Regions from separate parts of the Homo sapiens genome. Here region 1 is linked to region 2. Evidence: promoter capture Hi-C in 16 types of primary human blood cells and fetal thymus (Javierre and others, 2016). All regions are on one chromosome and are shown on one strand. The core of a region is centred on a gene start or on the middle of the fragment in contact, and the rest is flanking DNA. Distances in the headings are between cores, read along the strand shown.

What was found. The method cuts DNA at HindIII sites, captures the fragments that hold promoters and counts their contacts. A CHiCAGO score of 5 or more calls a contact.
Region 1: a fragment that was not itself captured here is called in contact with the fragment with the promoter of HSD17B2 in region 2 in 3 of 17 cell types (M1 macrophages, monocytes and M0 macrophages); the score reaches 6.1 in M1 macrophages.

What each region holds. Positions count from the first base shown.
Region 1 is chr16:82,259,570-82,263,372 of GRCh38, reverse strand. No RefSeq gene overlaps it. Among named protein-coding and RNA genes, the nearest start is that of MPHOSPH6, 91 kb to the right of the region's middle. RefSeq lists an enhancer at 2,774-3,273. The HindIII fragment of the contact is 3,900 bases long and covers 162-3,803 here.
Region 2 is chr16:82,033,798-82,037,910 of GRCh38, reverse strand. HSD17B2 (hydroxysteroid 17-beta dehydrogenase 2) reads right to left here and starts at 2,658. Exons shown (of 5, transcript NM_002153.3): 1 at 2,222-2,658. The coding sequence starts at 2,486. The HindIII fragment of the contact is 2,978 bases long and covers 1,476-4,113 here.

The DNA.
Region 1 (3,803 bases), core at 862-3,361, 230 kb before region 2:
GCAGTGGAAAAACAACACAGCCTAACTTTGCATGCAACAATTTGATCTAAGCAAATAAATAAGTTATTTTCATTTCCAGTTTAACGTAACAAGAATATTTCTACAAGATAATTTGCTTTCAAAAATTCTAGCTGTGAAGTTTAATAACAGAACATGAAGCTTCGTGTCATTTCATATTTATGCTCCAATCCCAGTTTTGACAGTTCCCATGGGCTCTGGACTGCTTGGCTAGAGATATTTTAGGCCATGTTTTCATAACAACAGGTAGAAAACGCAGCCCTAGAGCCAGGAAAAAATAAAGAGCCTTTAATAGGGTTTTAGACATGGGACTTGCTCACCTTTTTCTCCTCCTTGCTACCAGGCAAGTTTACAACTCAAAGAAATGGTCAAGTTTTCCCTTCCAGTCTCCTAAATATATGGTACTAGACGCCTGTTCCAAGCTCGCAGTGTCAGAAAAGTCCCTTCTCTCCCCGGATTGGCTAACAGCAATGGCAGCTAGCTGGTACTGATCAAGAGTTGATGCCATGCTGGGGGTTGTGCCCAAAGCATCATACGAAGCTGGCCAAATCTCCAGGGAATCACCAGGAAGGAAGAACTATGTGTATCTCATTTCACAGATGAGGTAATGGGGCCTAGCTGGTGAGGACCTTTGCACATGGTCTCACAGATAGCATGGGTTCTGAACCCAGACATCTAATTCCAGACTAGGATCAGCCCTGGCCAGGTGTGTCAGGGTGAATCTGACCCATCCTCACCTAGTCAAACCCTTCAAAGGGCAGCTTCACCATTTTCTCTTCCTGCCCTACATTTCCCACCACTCTCACACCCACAAACCCAGCCCCTTCCAATGGCATCAGTGCCTCTTGCCAGTGAAATCTCACCCTGCTTATCACTAGCCCTCCCACAGTCCACCCTTGCTTTAAGTGGGTGACATGAATGTTAAGCATCTTAAAGGCAAGACTCATGTCTAATTTGTGTCTATATTAATCCCAAGCGCTGGCACCGGACATTATAAGCAGTCAGCGGCCAGTACATGTTTGCAGGATGAACAGATGAATAAATGGACCTGGAGAAATGCACTTCCATGCTGTAAGAGATCCCTGGGGTCAGGAAGGGAGCTAATCCCATTGGAGGGCATGGACAGTGATGATGCTAACCCCCAAAGAGTGGACAGGGGAGTGGGAGCACAGGGAGGACATCTAAGGAATGTACTCAGAAGGCATCTCTATACCCAGGTTGTCACCAACAAGCAGAGTGATCCCACCACTGAACAAGACACCTTCAAGGCAGAGTCAGGCACTGCAGCATGAAGCCAAAACAGAGGACTCTGCAACCTTCCCCCTTTAGCCCCTCTGGTGGGGCATTTAGGAAATATACAGAACCCCCCTCTCTTCTCTAGCACAGAAGTACCACCACCCCTTTCTAGACTGTGAGCTCTTCGAAGGCACAGGCTGTTTGGTTCTCTGCTAAATCCTGGATATCCTTGACACCTAGAGGAGGTTCAATAGGTATTCTTAAAGCATTCAAGCCTTAATTTCAGCAGCCACTACAAAGCAGTGGTAAGGGAGAAATCTGTGTCATATCCAGAGCAACACCCAGAATTCCTCAGTCTTTTCTGAAACAGTGATGTATCCGTCTTCATATTTTGTAGATGCTAATTGTTGACAAGATGATTTGGTAGCTCAAAAAATTGGAACTGACACCGTCAACCTGTTTAATCCATTTACAATCTTTGATCATCAGTGCAAGGGACTTTGTCAACTGAGTGAGGCCAGTTTACCTTGTGAGGCCAGCATCTTGTTTCCTATTAGTGATGAGCATTACAAGTAAGTAGATTGGCTTAGCATGTTAAATAGCATCCAACAGCCCAGCAAAAATCACACGCTAATGTAAGAAAATAGAATCTGTGAAATAAGGAGAGGGAGGATTCAAGCCAATGCACATTTACTGAGCAAAAGTTTTGCTAACTAGCTTCGCCACCACTGGACTTGCTGCACCCCATCCTCCACAAATTGTCCAAAGTGATCTTTCTAAATGCCAATTGGCTCATATTGCCTCCCTGTTTAAAATTCTTTAGTAGTTTCTCCAATCTCTTTATCATGTCATCCCAGGCTGTCTGGAATATGGGCCTTGCATACCTCCCTAGCCCAAAACATCTCCCTTTCCTCACTCCACGATATGCTACACACACTCCCCCTGTACTCCAGAAGTCTCATGGTATGCATGAATGGCTGCAGAGTCTCTTTCAACAGGACCTTTGCACATGCTCCTCCCTCCTTTTGGAATAATTTCCTCTACCCTTTCACCTAGCTAATTGCTTCAGGATTTAGACAAACTGTTTATTGCATCCAAGGAGACTTCCCTAATGTAATGGGGTTAAATGGTGGTCTCTAAAAAGATACGTCTACATCCTAAACCCCAGAACCTGTTAATGTGAAAATAAAAAGGGCCTGTAGGGCCTGGTGTGATAGATCATACCTATAATCCACCCACTTTGGGAGGCCGAGGTGGGTGGATCACTTGAGCCCAGGAGTTCAAGACCAGCCTGGGAAACATGGTTGTATTAGTCCATTTTCATGCTGCTGATAAAGACATACCTGAGACTAGGTCATTTATAAAGAAAAAGAGGTTTAATGGATTTACAGTTCCATGTGGCTGGAGAGGACTTACAATCATGGCAGAAGGCAAAAGGCACATCTCACATGGTGGCAGACAAGAGAGAAGTGAGAGCCAAGCAAAAGGGGTTTCCCCATGTAAAACCACGGCTTCTCATGAGGCTTATTCACTACCAAGAGAACAGTATGGAGGAAACCACCGTCATGATTAAATTATCTCCCACCAGTCCCTCCCACAACATGTTGTAATTATGGGAGGTACAATTCAAGATGAGATTTGGGTGGGAACACAACCAAACCACATCAATGGTGAAACCCCAGCTCCACAAAAATACAGAAAAGTTAGCCAGGCATGGTGGCACATGTCTGTGGTCTCAGCTACTCCGGAGGCTGAGGTAAGAGGATTGCTTGAGCCTCGGTGGCAGATGTTGCAGTGAGCTGAGATCACGCCACTGCACTCCAGCCTGGGTGACAGTGTGAGACCCTGTCAAGGAACGAAGGAAGGAAGGAAGGAAGGAAGGAAGGAAGGAAGGAAGGAAGGAAGGAAGGAAGGAAGGAAGGAGGGAAGGAAGGAAAGAAGGCAGGCAGGCAGGCAGGCAGGAAGGAAGGAAGGAAAGAAGGAAGGAAGGAAAGAAGGAAGGAAGGAAAGAAGGAAGGAAGGTAGGAAGGTAGGAAGGAAGGAAGGAAGGAAAGAAGGAAGGAAGGAAGGCAGTCAGGGAGGAAGGAAGGAAGGCAGGCAGGCAGGCAGGCAGGCAGGCAGGCTTGCAAATGTAGTTAAGTTAAAGATCTTGAGATATGATCATCCTAATCTGAGTGGGCCCTAAATTCAATGGCAAGTGCCCTTGTAAGAGACACACAGAGGAGCGGCACAGGGAGAAGGAGGAAAGGAGCCATGAGACTAAAGTGATGCAGCCACAAGTCAAGGAATGATGCCAGGAACCACCAGAAGCTGGAAGAGAAAAGGAAGGGTCTTCCCCCAGAGCCTTTGGAGGAAGCATGGCCCTACTGACACCTTGACTTCAGACTTCTGGCCTCCAGAACTGTGAGAGAATAAATTTCTGTTGTTTTAAGCCAGCAAGTGTGTGGGAATTTGTTACTACAGTTCTGGGAGACTAATACACTCGACCTTACCTTCAGAAGCTCCCTGTTCTGTGCTACCCCAACTCTGCACACACTCCTATCTCTGTC
Region 2 (4,113 bases), core at 1,409-3,908:
ACACTAATCCAACCATATACAAACTATTTCTTCCAGCTGTTATCACAGCTTTTTGCCCAGCCCAGGAATCTATGCATTTGACGTGGCTGTAGACTTGTTCCAACCCTGGGATTTCCTGTGTGTTTTCCTTTGGCCCAAGCAGTTTTCCATGTAACACAGTCCTTGTGGCTGTCATTTTTAATGGTTGCACATTGTTATACCCAGAGGATGTACCATATATTATCACCCTTTTTGTTGCTTTTGATATTTAATATTAATCTAAATTAAATAATAAGATTGTGTTGAATGTGCCATTTTGGTTTTGCTTCTACTCTTTTTTTCATATTTCAGATTATGTCTTCAAAATAAATTTCCAAGACTTGAATTATCAGATAAAGGAACCATATGTATGGTTTTGATGTACACTGCCACATTTTTCTTTGGTCCTGCCCCACCACAATGCGTGCTAATCTATGTTATCATAAGCCAATCTGGAACAAAGGTTATTCCAAACTCAGCGTGGCTTCTTCATTCTTTAAAGAGTTGTGGTCTAACAAAATGAATTCATTTTAAATTTCTCGATTTCATACAAAGGTCTTGAGGCCTTGTCTAGGATGATATGAGCACATAGCATTCCTCATAAAAATGACAGAGAACTTGAAAATAACAAAGAACGTGAAAGTGACATTTCAGTCATCCTTAAATATATGTAGTGCTCATCTTAATTCTAAGCTTTCTTCATTGCCATAAGCATTTCATGCAGGGATTAGTCCTTGAGCTTGAGTTGCCTAATTGATTCAATCATCCTCACTCAACACTAAATGCACGGCACCTTTCAGTGGCTGATGTGGGCTCACTGAGTTGGGTGCATATTTTGTGAGCATTAATTAACACCTGCATCTTGAAATGCAGAGGATAAAGAATGTTGACAAAATAAACAAGCAAGAAGGGATTCCCATTTTCTCAGCTACCCTGTGGTTTGCCTGAGCTCATCCTAAGGTTTCATAACAGAACAGGACACAGAACAGGAAAATTGAGACTCTCTTACAAATTTCACCGATAAGCCATTTGAGAATTCTAATAAAAAAGTGGAAAATCCAGCCAGACTCCCAGATACATGATTCCAGGTGATATCAGACATTCTTGCAGATAAACATCCCATTGACTGAATTTTCTCCCTCTAAACTTTCAAAAATTAATTTAAAGAAGCTTCTTTTCTGTGGCTTGTCTAACCCCAACAAGCACCAATTTGCATTTTGTTTCAAGAAAGCATTTTACTTTAACCCAAAAACAAAGTCTGTTTCTCTGCAAATTGTCAAGCCCCAGATTTTCTCCCAACCACATCCCCATGCCATTCTTGCCTTCACCCTGAGGATCATGGTCAGAGGGGTGATGATCTCCCCCAAATGATTCCACAGCTGATTTTTTTTTTATTTGGTAGGGCTTTCTGGGTTAGGATAACGCTGGATAATCCTAATTACAGCCCTATCCAAGCTTAAACTCCATAACCAAGCAAAAATTTTACAACTCAAAGAAATTTAATTTGGCCTCACACTTGCAATGGGGAAACACACACACACACACACACACACACACACACACACACACACAAACAAGGGAAAAACTGGCAGCTCAGCTAACAGGCAACTGAATGTTGGACACGATGCCAAGTTGGTCCAATTAAGAAACATTAGAGGTCTAATGAGGAACAGTTCAGACAGGACACAAGGTTCTTGACAGCAGCCAAGCAAACTGCAAAGTCTCCAGCCCAGGTAAGTGAATCCCTTCAATATTTCAAAACAGCAAGGGACAAGTAGAACTTGGCTTGTAAGCGTTCTTGCATACCTAGGGAAGAAGAGTCCAGGTGGAGAACCTGGCCAAACAATGATGTCAGAACAAAAGTCCATTTAAGCCTAAAAAACAATCTATGGGACATTCCTGGGTACAATAGAACACATGAAATATTGCCATTTTGCCTATTAATATTTATTCCTGGGAAATTTTAACAAAATCATTGTCTGGGTGCACTTCATCCTCTCCTTCCCTCCCACTACCAGCCCCTTCAAATGCACCTCCTGGAAAAAACGGAACGAAAACAGTGTCATGAAAAATACTTGGGTGAGGGCTTTCATTTACTCCATGCCAAGTATTTTATTTTTAAGCCAGATTTGACAAAGTCCTGCTAAGGCAAAGCAAGTTTCAGATCATACCCTCAGTGAAAATTGTAGCACCGTCTGCTTACCTGTCACCAGGACTGCCTTCTGATCCACAGGTAACAATTCTTGGCCAGATAAGTAAGTATACATGAGGAAGCATGACACCGAGAAGAGGATCAAGCCCCAAAAAGGGGACAGGATGAGCAGGCAGACTGCACAGAGGCCTGCCAGGCAGACCATCCAGCTCCACAGCTGCCCTGAGCTCTTCTTGTATTTGCAAAATACTGTCCCACATAGTACTGTGGGGACAGCCAGGCAGATCCATGCTGTGTCCGAGAAGAAAGTGCTCATTCTCAGTGACTTGCTGCACCTTCAAGTGCTCAGGGCCAGTGAGTCTAGCGGGCAAAGGCTGGCTGGAGGCAGCCTGAGTTCTGTGAACAGAGAGTCAAGAAGGGAGGGGAGAAAGCAGCCCCAGCCCCTTTCAACTGAGCATAGATTAAGCATAATCATATTCCCAGTGGGTAATTTAAACCAGTGTGCACTTCAACATAAATACCAAGGCACTTCCTATTTGACCGCTCTCGCCCCTCCCCACCCCCTGCATACACAACACATGCACATACTCACCCACAAACACACACCTTCTATTTTTTTTTAATGACAGTCCACCTCTGGAGCGATGACTAACTGGATAATAATTGACAGAATTTGAACTGCATGGAGAATAACAGGAAGATCCTCTAGCTCACAGGAAAATACTGTCTTCTTCAAGAGCCTGCAGTATGTCTGGGTGCTGAGTCCTTTTTCTGACTCGGGAGTGAGTGAGAGTGTGTGTGTGTGTGTGCGTGTGTGTGCATGCATGCATATAAATATAGGCAATCGATGAAGTTTGGAAAATAGATTCTGGAAGGGAAGGCACCTCTGATCTGGTCCATAGCTTCAGGACTCCTACAAATCCCAACTGAGGCAGGCTGAAGGGTTGGATGGAGAGGGATATGAAAGTAGAGGAAGATATTCCTTGGTAGAGGAAAGTGCTTTGGTCTTGCCTGAGTGGAAACATGCCAGGGAGAGATAATAATGACAATTAACTAATAGCGGCTAATATCTATTGGTAGTTTTTTGTGGCAGAGGCTGTGTATAGCTGCTTATTTGTTCTTTCTCTTTATTGTAAGCCTATTCTATGCCAGCCTCCATTCACTGGGACTCCTCTCATCCTCCTTGAATACAATATCCTTATGAAGTTGATTCTAGTATTATAGTAATTTTACAGGTGAGGAAACCAGGACACAGAGAGGGTAAGAGACTTAGTCAAGATCACACAGCAGTGGAGTCTTGCAGCCTGATCTCAGAGCTGTATGCCCCTAAGCATTCTATTCCACTGCCTGCTTTAGGCAAAAAAAAAAAAAAAAATTAGTGCATTATGTGCTAGATCTTTCCTACTTTCACCCCATTTCAACCTTATAAAACTGTTTGAGGTGGGTGTTATTATTATGGTCAGTTTACAGAGAGAAAAACTGAGGCTGGGAAAAAATAAATCCCTTACTCACAAGCGGCTTAAAAGCCAGCACTCTGCAACTACAGCACCACCTAACCGTGCTAAGCCAGAGAGGGGTCACCGCACCTGGGCTCAGGGCGTGCCCCATGTGGGCCACATGCCTGGCTGGAGGGAGGCAAGGTTGTGATAAAGGCTGGACTTTGGCATAGCTAGAGAGAAACATTCTCTATTTGAGGTCAGTTTCCCTCTATTCAAATCTAATCTTAACTCCACTACTTATTAATTACATAGTCTTGGGAGGGTCACTTCACCTCCCTAGATCTTCATCCCTTTGGCTATAAAATAATATCATATCCTGCCTGGAACAGTAGAAGGAACCTCATAAATGCTAGTGATTCATGTTTTTTAAACAGGAGGAGAATGAAGAATAAGAGGAAGTCGTGTAAAACAAAGTGTCCAGTGGAGTATAGACTTGTCTCAAAA